Linked DNA regions of Homo sapiens: region 1 is linked to region 2. The links are contacts of gene promoters, found by promoter capture Hi-C in blood cells and fetal thymus (Javierre and others, 2016). All regions are on one chromosome and are shown on one strand. Each heading gives the region's core, a stretch centred on a gene start or on the middle of the fragment in contact. The rest is flanking DNA. Distances are from core to core; before and after follow the strand shown. Region 1 has its middle 7.8 kb from the start of ALKBH8. Region 2 holds the start of POGLUT3 (protein O-glucosyltransferase 3).

Evidence for each region. The method cuts DNA at HindIII sites, captures the fragments that hold promoters and counts their contacts. A CHiCAGO score of 5 or more calls a contact.
Region 1: a contact is called between a fragment that was not itself captured here and the fragment with the promoter of POGLUT3 in region 2, in 1 of 17 cell types (total CD4 T cells). The highest score is 6.0, in total CD4 T cells.

What each region holds. Positions count from the first base shown.
Region 1 is chr11:107,571,705-107,575,298 of GRCh38, forward strand. No RefSeq gene overlaps it. Among named protein-coding and RNA genes, the nearest start is that of ALKBH8, 7.8 kb to the left of the region's middle. The HindIII fragment of the contact is 413 bases long and covers 1,346-1,758 here.
Region 2 is chr11:108,496,320-108,499,953 of GRCh38, forward strand. POGLUT3 (protein O-glucosyltransferase 3) reads right to left here and starts at 2,065. Exons shown (of 8, transcript NM_153705.5): 1 at 1,846-2,065. The coding sequence starts at 2,047. LOC112267909 (a long non-coding RNA gene) reads left to right here and starts at 2,742. Exons shown (of 3, transcript XR_007062880.1): 1 at 2,742-3,331. RefSeq lists a silencer at 1,698-2,217. The HindIII fragment of the contact is 8,220 bases long and covers 1-3,634 here.

The DNA.
Region 1 (3,594 bases), core at 302-2,801, 930 kb before region 2:
TGGCCAGATTGTCACATTACGAGCTCTCCCCAAACCTATGAGAAAAGGATGCTAAAAGAATGGCCACTCTTCAATTAGCCAGACATGGTGGCATGCACCTATAGTCCTAGCTACTCAAGAGGCTAACATGGGAGGATCACTTGAGCCCAAGAATTCAAGGTGACAGTGAGCTATGATTGCACCACTGAACTCCAGCCTGGACGACAGAGTAATGAGCACTCTCATCAGCTAATAAAGCATCCAAAACTAGAATTCTTACAGCTATTGTATTCTAGTTCAAGAGTCTTCAATCAGAAAAAAATTGAAAATGGCCCCAATAGTCCTTGAAAATTGTTACATTTTTACTGTAGTTCCAAACTATGAAACTGTTTGACTGCAGTTTCAAACTCAATTCCTATGGTTATGAGGTTTCTAACCTCGCCCTTCTCCCTACAGCCCCTTTCCCCACCATCTGTTTCTGGCTACTTTCTAGTTTTTCTTCCAGTTGTCCCCTGTGGCAACTGTACTAGTTTTGCTTGTTTTTCTATTTATGGTTTAAAAAAAAAAAGTTTTATTTCTCAGTCTTTCCTCTCATTTACTCTTCTGCTACTTATTTTATTCCTCCTGGAAAAATGACAAATTTGTATCAAGTTTTCTTTCCAAAGTTGTGTCTTCTCTGCTGCTTCCCTGGTTGCTGGCTTCTTGAAACTTCAGCAAGAATGCATTATGTAAAACCATTTGATGTTCACTGTGACATTTCAGGACTGAATACATTATTCACGCTATGGTGATAAAAATTCAATGAAAAGTTTGCAGTTTTATAAGTCATATGGTGAAAGTATTCCCTGTACAGTAATTAGAGGCAAAAGGTAACCAAGAAAAAAAACAGAGGAGAAGGAAAAGGGTCAGCCTTTAATTTATAATACAAAACATAAAACTCAGCTTGGAGAATTCATTTATTATTATTATTTTTTTTTTTTGGTCATTTGCAAAGCATACAATTTTAGCTACGAAGCATTAACCTCCCCCAAATGGTCTATTTATTCTTGAGGCTAAAGGCCTGCTTACTTTGCAGAATAATTTTCTTTTCTACACAGATTTTTTAAATAGATGAGAATAAAGAACTAGCAGGCAACTCAGGGTGCAGGAAAATCTTTGGGGTGGCTAGAGGTGTGGGATTTGTGGATTTTAAAAGGTTATGATAAAATAAAACAAAATCTTTTAAAAATGTTTCCCTTAAATGTAGAAGAAAAAAGTATATTTTAAAAATGTATAAACATTTCATTTAAAAATGTCTTGCCACATTGATGGCTTCATTCTATCATTAATTTCTCAAAGACACAAAGATATTTGCCCAGAGAGGGCAAGCTTCATTATTAACTATATTTGTGATCGCTTCTAGTTTGGGGAGTAGACTTCTTGTCAGATCTGATTAGATAGTCTCAGCTGTTAGGTTGGGACTGAGAGCTCATACTAGGAGCATTAATTTTGCTATTTTCTGTTGGTTATTTGTGCTTGAATTATTGTCTATATTCATCTTCACTGTAGGGAATTCAGAGTTTTCTAACCCACTTGTCCATTTTGCAAAAAATAGTTTTTGGATTACATAATCCAAAAATCCATTTATCAGGCACCACAAAAAAATAATGTCTCGCTTAAATCAAAAGAGGGAGGATGCCAGAGGCAGCTGTCCTGCCTGTGAGCTCTCACTCCTCTCCTCTTCTAGAGCACCTCTCATAAAGTCTGTGACATGTAACATCAGACATTCACACCTAATGAAGCTTCCAGGATATTAAATGTGAATAGAGATTAATTTGTTTTAGATAAACATATAAATGGAATTTCTAGAATATTCTTCTAAATCCCACAAGCCATACACACTTCACTTTAGAGGCCACTGCACTAGGGCATGTTCCTCAAAGGCTGGTTCTTAGACTACTTGCATCAGAATCACTGAAGTGCTTGGTTAAGTGGTCTCCAACCCCACTAGACATAACGAGTCAACTTAAAGCACATATAAATTTTAATTCTCTGAACACCAGTTGGTTACAGTGTGTGCTCCAAAATCTCTGGGGCCAGGGCCCAGTAACCTGCATGTTTAACAAGCAATTTTGCTACTTTTGCAAGTGTTCAACCACTGAGGAAAAAGATTGTATGTTATTTGTCAACATAGACCTCTTTAAAAATCATCCCCAGAGTGAGAAGCTGCCAGATTTCTAGTATATTTGGAATTCTCATTTCAAGGGAAGTATTTTAATTTTATAAGGTGCAAGGACCAAGAAGCAGATGATTCAAATTTCAGATTATTAAATTATTAAAGAATAATAGATTATGTTTTATAATTTGACAAAAGTTTTTAAAAAATTTTTAATAAAAAATAAAAACAACTCTTTTTGGCATCTCTTATATCCCATTTTACAAATGTAACAACTGAGACTTAAAGACAAAATGTATGAGCTGTTTAAATATAAATTTTTTTATTTTTATTTTTGTATTTTTTTGAGATGGAGTCTTGCTTTGTTGCCAGGCTGGAGTGCAGTGATGCAGTCTCGGCTCACTGCAACCTCTGCCTCCTGGGTTCAAGTGATTCTCCTGCCTCAGCCTCCCAAGTAGCTGGGACTACAGGCATGCGCCACCATGCCCAACTAATTTTTTTGTAATTTTTAGTAGAGATGGGTTTCACCATATTGGCCAGGATGGTCTTGATCTTCTGACTTCATGATCCGCCTGCTTTGGCCCCCCAAAGTGCTGGGATTTAAATATAAAATATTTTAAAGAGTGATTTACATCCATGTCTGTTATCGCATGAGTAAAAGAGCTAGCTTTTATTTTATTTTATTTTTTATTTTATTTTTTGAGACAAGAGTCTTGCTCTGTCACCCAGGCTGGAGTGCAGTGGCGCAATCTTGGTTCACTGCAACCTCAGCTTCCCAGGTTCAAGCAATTCTCCTGCCTCGGCCTCCTGAGTAGTTGTGATTACAGGTGCCTGCCACCACGCCTGGCTAATTTTTGTATTTTTAGTAGAGACGGGGTTTCACCGTGTTGGCCAGGCTGGTCCCGAACTCCTGGCCTCAAGTGATCCTCCCGCTTTGGCCTCCCAAAGTGCTGGGATTACAGGTGTGAGCCACCGTGCACGGCCTAGGGCCAACTTTTATACGTTAAAACATGTACCTCTTTACATCTACCTTTTATTACAAGCACAAAGTGCTTAACATACACTATTCCTGAATCCTTCAATAACCGTACAAGTTTTATTCTCCCAATTTTACAAATGAGCTCTGAGGCTCAGAGAGTTTAAGCAACTTTCCCAAGATTGACACAGTTAGTGATAAAGCCAGGAGTCTAACCCAAAGGTTTCCCCTTTACCAACTGCATGCATTATTGCTGAGGGACACCATTGCAGAAAAGACGTGTCCTTTTTTATATTTTGAAGTATTCCAAGTATAATGAGACAAAAATATAGACATAAAAAGGTGAAAAATGTTTTGTTAAAGTGGGTGCATCTGTTATGCAAACACATACAGGGTAGTTTACATAGTATAACTTTTAAAATCTTTAAGAATGATAGTGTATACAGAGTCTTAATTGAAAGTTTAGATGAGATAATATTTCTAA
Region 2 (3,634 bases), core at 815-3,314:
AAAAAAAAAAGGAGGAGGGGGGTTGGAGAAAAATCAAAATAATAATATTCTGTGACTTATGGAAAACTATATGAAATTGAAATTTCAGTGGCCATAAAAAGTTTTATTGTAACATAAACGGGTTTGTTATATGTCCATGGCTACAAAGCACAGCTGAATAAATGTGAGAGATGATATCACCTACAAAGCCTAAATTATTTACTATCTGGCCCTTTAAAGAAAAAGTTTGTGAAACCCTGATATACACACATGCGTTTCTGTCAATAGAGTCGGAATTATTTTACCTAAATGCATATCATGCATATGAAACCAGTTGTCTGAGTATTTAGGGTCTAACTGGTAGACACGTTATCAAAGCAATGCCCAAAGACAACTTCAGGAGTGGTGTTCTGAATCAAATGTAGAAAACAAGCCACTGAGGTAGTTAAGGGAGAGGCAGATTCTTGCCTCAGCTCAAATTTCTCCAGTGGCTCTCTTTTATCTAGTTATAAAGTCATTTGCTTGGCATTCAAGGCGCTTGAAGACCAGAGGCTACAATCAACCAGGCTTTTCCGCTCAGTATCATTAAATTACAGTACTTATTTTCCCGAACACCACGGTCTCCTACGCCTCTGTGCTTCTGCACATGCCATGGCGTCCTTCTATATGCCTGCCCAGCAAACCTTCTCATCCTTCAAGTCTCTGCTCCTGAAATCTTCCTGGATTTCTCCAGTCTCTGGCAGTGCTTCAATGTTGCCACTGCACTCTGTACATACCTTCAATTATCTTGTACAGTGATCAGTTATTTGCATGTCTTTGACCAACAGACTGTAAGTTCCTTGATGGTCAGGCATTGTCTTTTCATCCTTAGATTCCCAGCAGAATTACCAAACACAGAAGTAGACATCAAAGAAGTATTTCTTGAATGAATGAAATTTTAAAAATCATTAAATCTAAAAGTGAATTATGTTTGGTTCCTAAATTCTCTGCTTTGCCCAGCTGTCAAGACCCCCTTACCCCTTTCCCAAGTTGGGACACACTTCTGGCAGCTATGTTCCCAGCTGGACTAGCAGGGGCAGAGGCACTGGTTTATTCTAATTGTCTCTTCGCTGATACAACAAGGTGCTAGTTGGCCAGAGCCCCAAATTATACATTAGCAAATCCTGACTGACAACAGCGTGAAACCAGCAGGACAAGTTTTAAGAAGTTGCAAAGGTTAAGACGTGAAGGACAACGTGGGAGGAGGACCGGGCAGAAAGGGATTCAGGACGAGATCCATCTCACCCTCCGTGGAGGGAAAACCGAATGATTTCTACTGAGTTTCCCTAGTTCCTGTAATCTGCTTTCAAAAACTCAGAACTAAAAAGGAAACAAAAAACTAACACGTAAACCCCTCCTCCTTCCTACGGCTCTGACATTTCCTCTGCGTAGGATTTCGTTGCTCCAAACCCACCAGGCCTAAGCCATGTAATCCGACGCGATCCGTCGGCTTGATGACTCACCACTGGAAAGCGCTCCCTGCAATCCCTCACAGTTCAGACAACTAAGTCCGAGATGGAAGGCAACGTGTGACTCACGGCACACTCCTTGTAACGCCCGGGCGCCGTCCATTCGCAACATCAGTCCCTGCACATTAAATGCGGAAGGGCCCTTCAAGTTCATTCATTCATTCATTCCACAAACTTTCGTGGTGATTTTTGCCCGCTTTGAGTATGGGCGGGAGGAGGGAAGAGGAGCTGACCAGACCCAAAAAGGGGCGACACACGCCGGGGAGGGACGCCACGCAGGCCGCGGGCGGACTCCCGGGCGGCGGGGACGCGCGGGGACCCGGCCGCGGGACGAGGGAGGCCGGCGGCTGGACACTACCTGCGGGAGAGCGAGTGAGGTTCTGGCCCTCCGAGTTGACCGCCTGCAGGTAGAAATAGCGGACCGGCAGGACGACGGCCGCCTGCAGCCCGGGCCCCCACACCAGGCTCCGCGGCGCGCTGACCAGCACCTCCGGGGCCCCCGCGGCCACCAGCAGGGCGAGGCGCAGCTGCAGCAGCAGGGCCCGCGGGAGGCGGCGCATGGTCGGCGGGGCACAACTGCGGTCCAGCTCCGCGGCGGCGAGGAGGGGCCGGCAGCGCCGCGGACCGGGCGGGGACTGGGGCCCACCGCGGGGCGGGTCTTTCGGGCGGGAAAGATTGCGGCGCAGGCTCCCTTTCCCGCCCGCTGTCCCGCCTCGTCTCCCTCGGGCGGGAACGCGAGCCAGTGCCGCAATCACCCACTGCGCGCCCTGTAGGGGTCGACGATGGGTGCGCCCCTTCCTCCCCGCAGCCCCATAGGCCCCGTGGAGGAAAGGGGTGGAGAGGCCCGCCCAGAGACCGAGGCTGCGAGTGTGCGCTGGCTGTTGATTGCCAAGGCTTCAGGCACGCCTGGCCTCCACTTCCAGTGGTCTTTCCCTTTCTTTTTCTTCCTTCCTTTCCTTCTTTCTTCTCTTTTCTTTCTCTGTTTTTATACAGACAAGGGGGCTGGCTCTGTCGCCTAGGCTGGAGTGCAATGGCGCGACCACAGCTCACTGCAGCCTGGAACTCGTGGGCTCAGGAGATCCTCCCGCCTCAGCCTCCCGAGTAGCTGGGACTGACTGTAGGCACACGACACCACGCTGGCTAATTTAATTTATTATTATTATTATTATTATTATTATTATTATTATTATTACTATTACTATTTGTAGAGACGGGGTCTCCCTATGTTGCCCAAGGTGGTCTTGAACTCCTGGTTTCAAGCAATCCGCCCGCCTCGGCTTCCCAAAGTGCCGGGATTACAGGCATGAGCCACCGGGTCCGCCGCTCAGGTGTTTTTAAAGGACGTAGACCCGGTGGTGATTGTTGTGGGACGATGAAAGGGTCCGGCCCCAAGATCGATGTAGTTTAGGGAAATATCTTTTCCCAAGGAATGTCTCCGAGTTTACAAGATGAGCGCCAAGGTCACGCCCCCCGCCCTCCCTCACAGCCCTCTGTTCACAGCAGCACCGTTCTCTTGTGGCCGGTTTTGTTGCTTTTCTGCTTAGCAGCCTCCCTCACAGAACCGTGATCCCCCCACCCCACACATCCCTTTCCCCGCTTCCTCCCGCACTCCTCTTCTTCCAGCAGGTGTTTACAGAACATCCACGGAGTTTGGGCCAAGCCCAGAGTGAGGAGCTGGGCACTGGGGTGGCAGAAGACCAGGCCTTGCCTTGAGCCCTTGTGCGAGCTTTACCTCAAAGCCTCTGTAATCGAAGTGGGAGAAGGGGTGGTGGTGCGTGGTTGGTCTCAGCCACCTCCACCACTCCTCAGAAGATGAACGCTGGATCCAGGAAGAGATTGTCAAGGTTACTATCTGCCTCTCTTTTTTGATCATTTTATCCAATTTGTTAATGGATACAAATTTGTTAATGGATTGTTAATAGATCTGAATTTATTTAAAGCCAATAAAGATTCTCCTCTGGCTGAATGATCCAGAAGGAACTCACACCCCAGAATGGACACAGGATTTCTGCACCCTCTTGGGGGAACTTAATGCCCAAAACATCAGAGCCAGGCACTGGACAAGCCTTTGTCCGCCTCACGGCTTTAACCGTGCTACTCAGCATTCTTGCTGTGACCAAGTTTTACCAGGGCAAAATCTTTCCCAC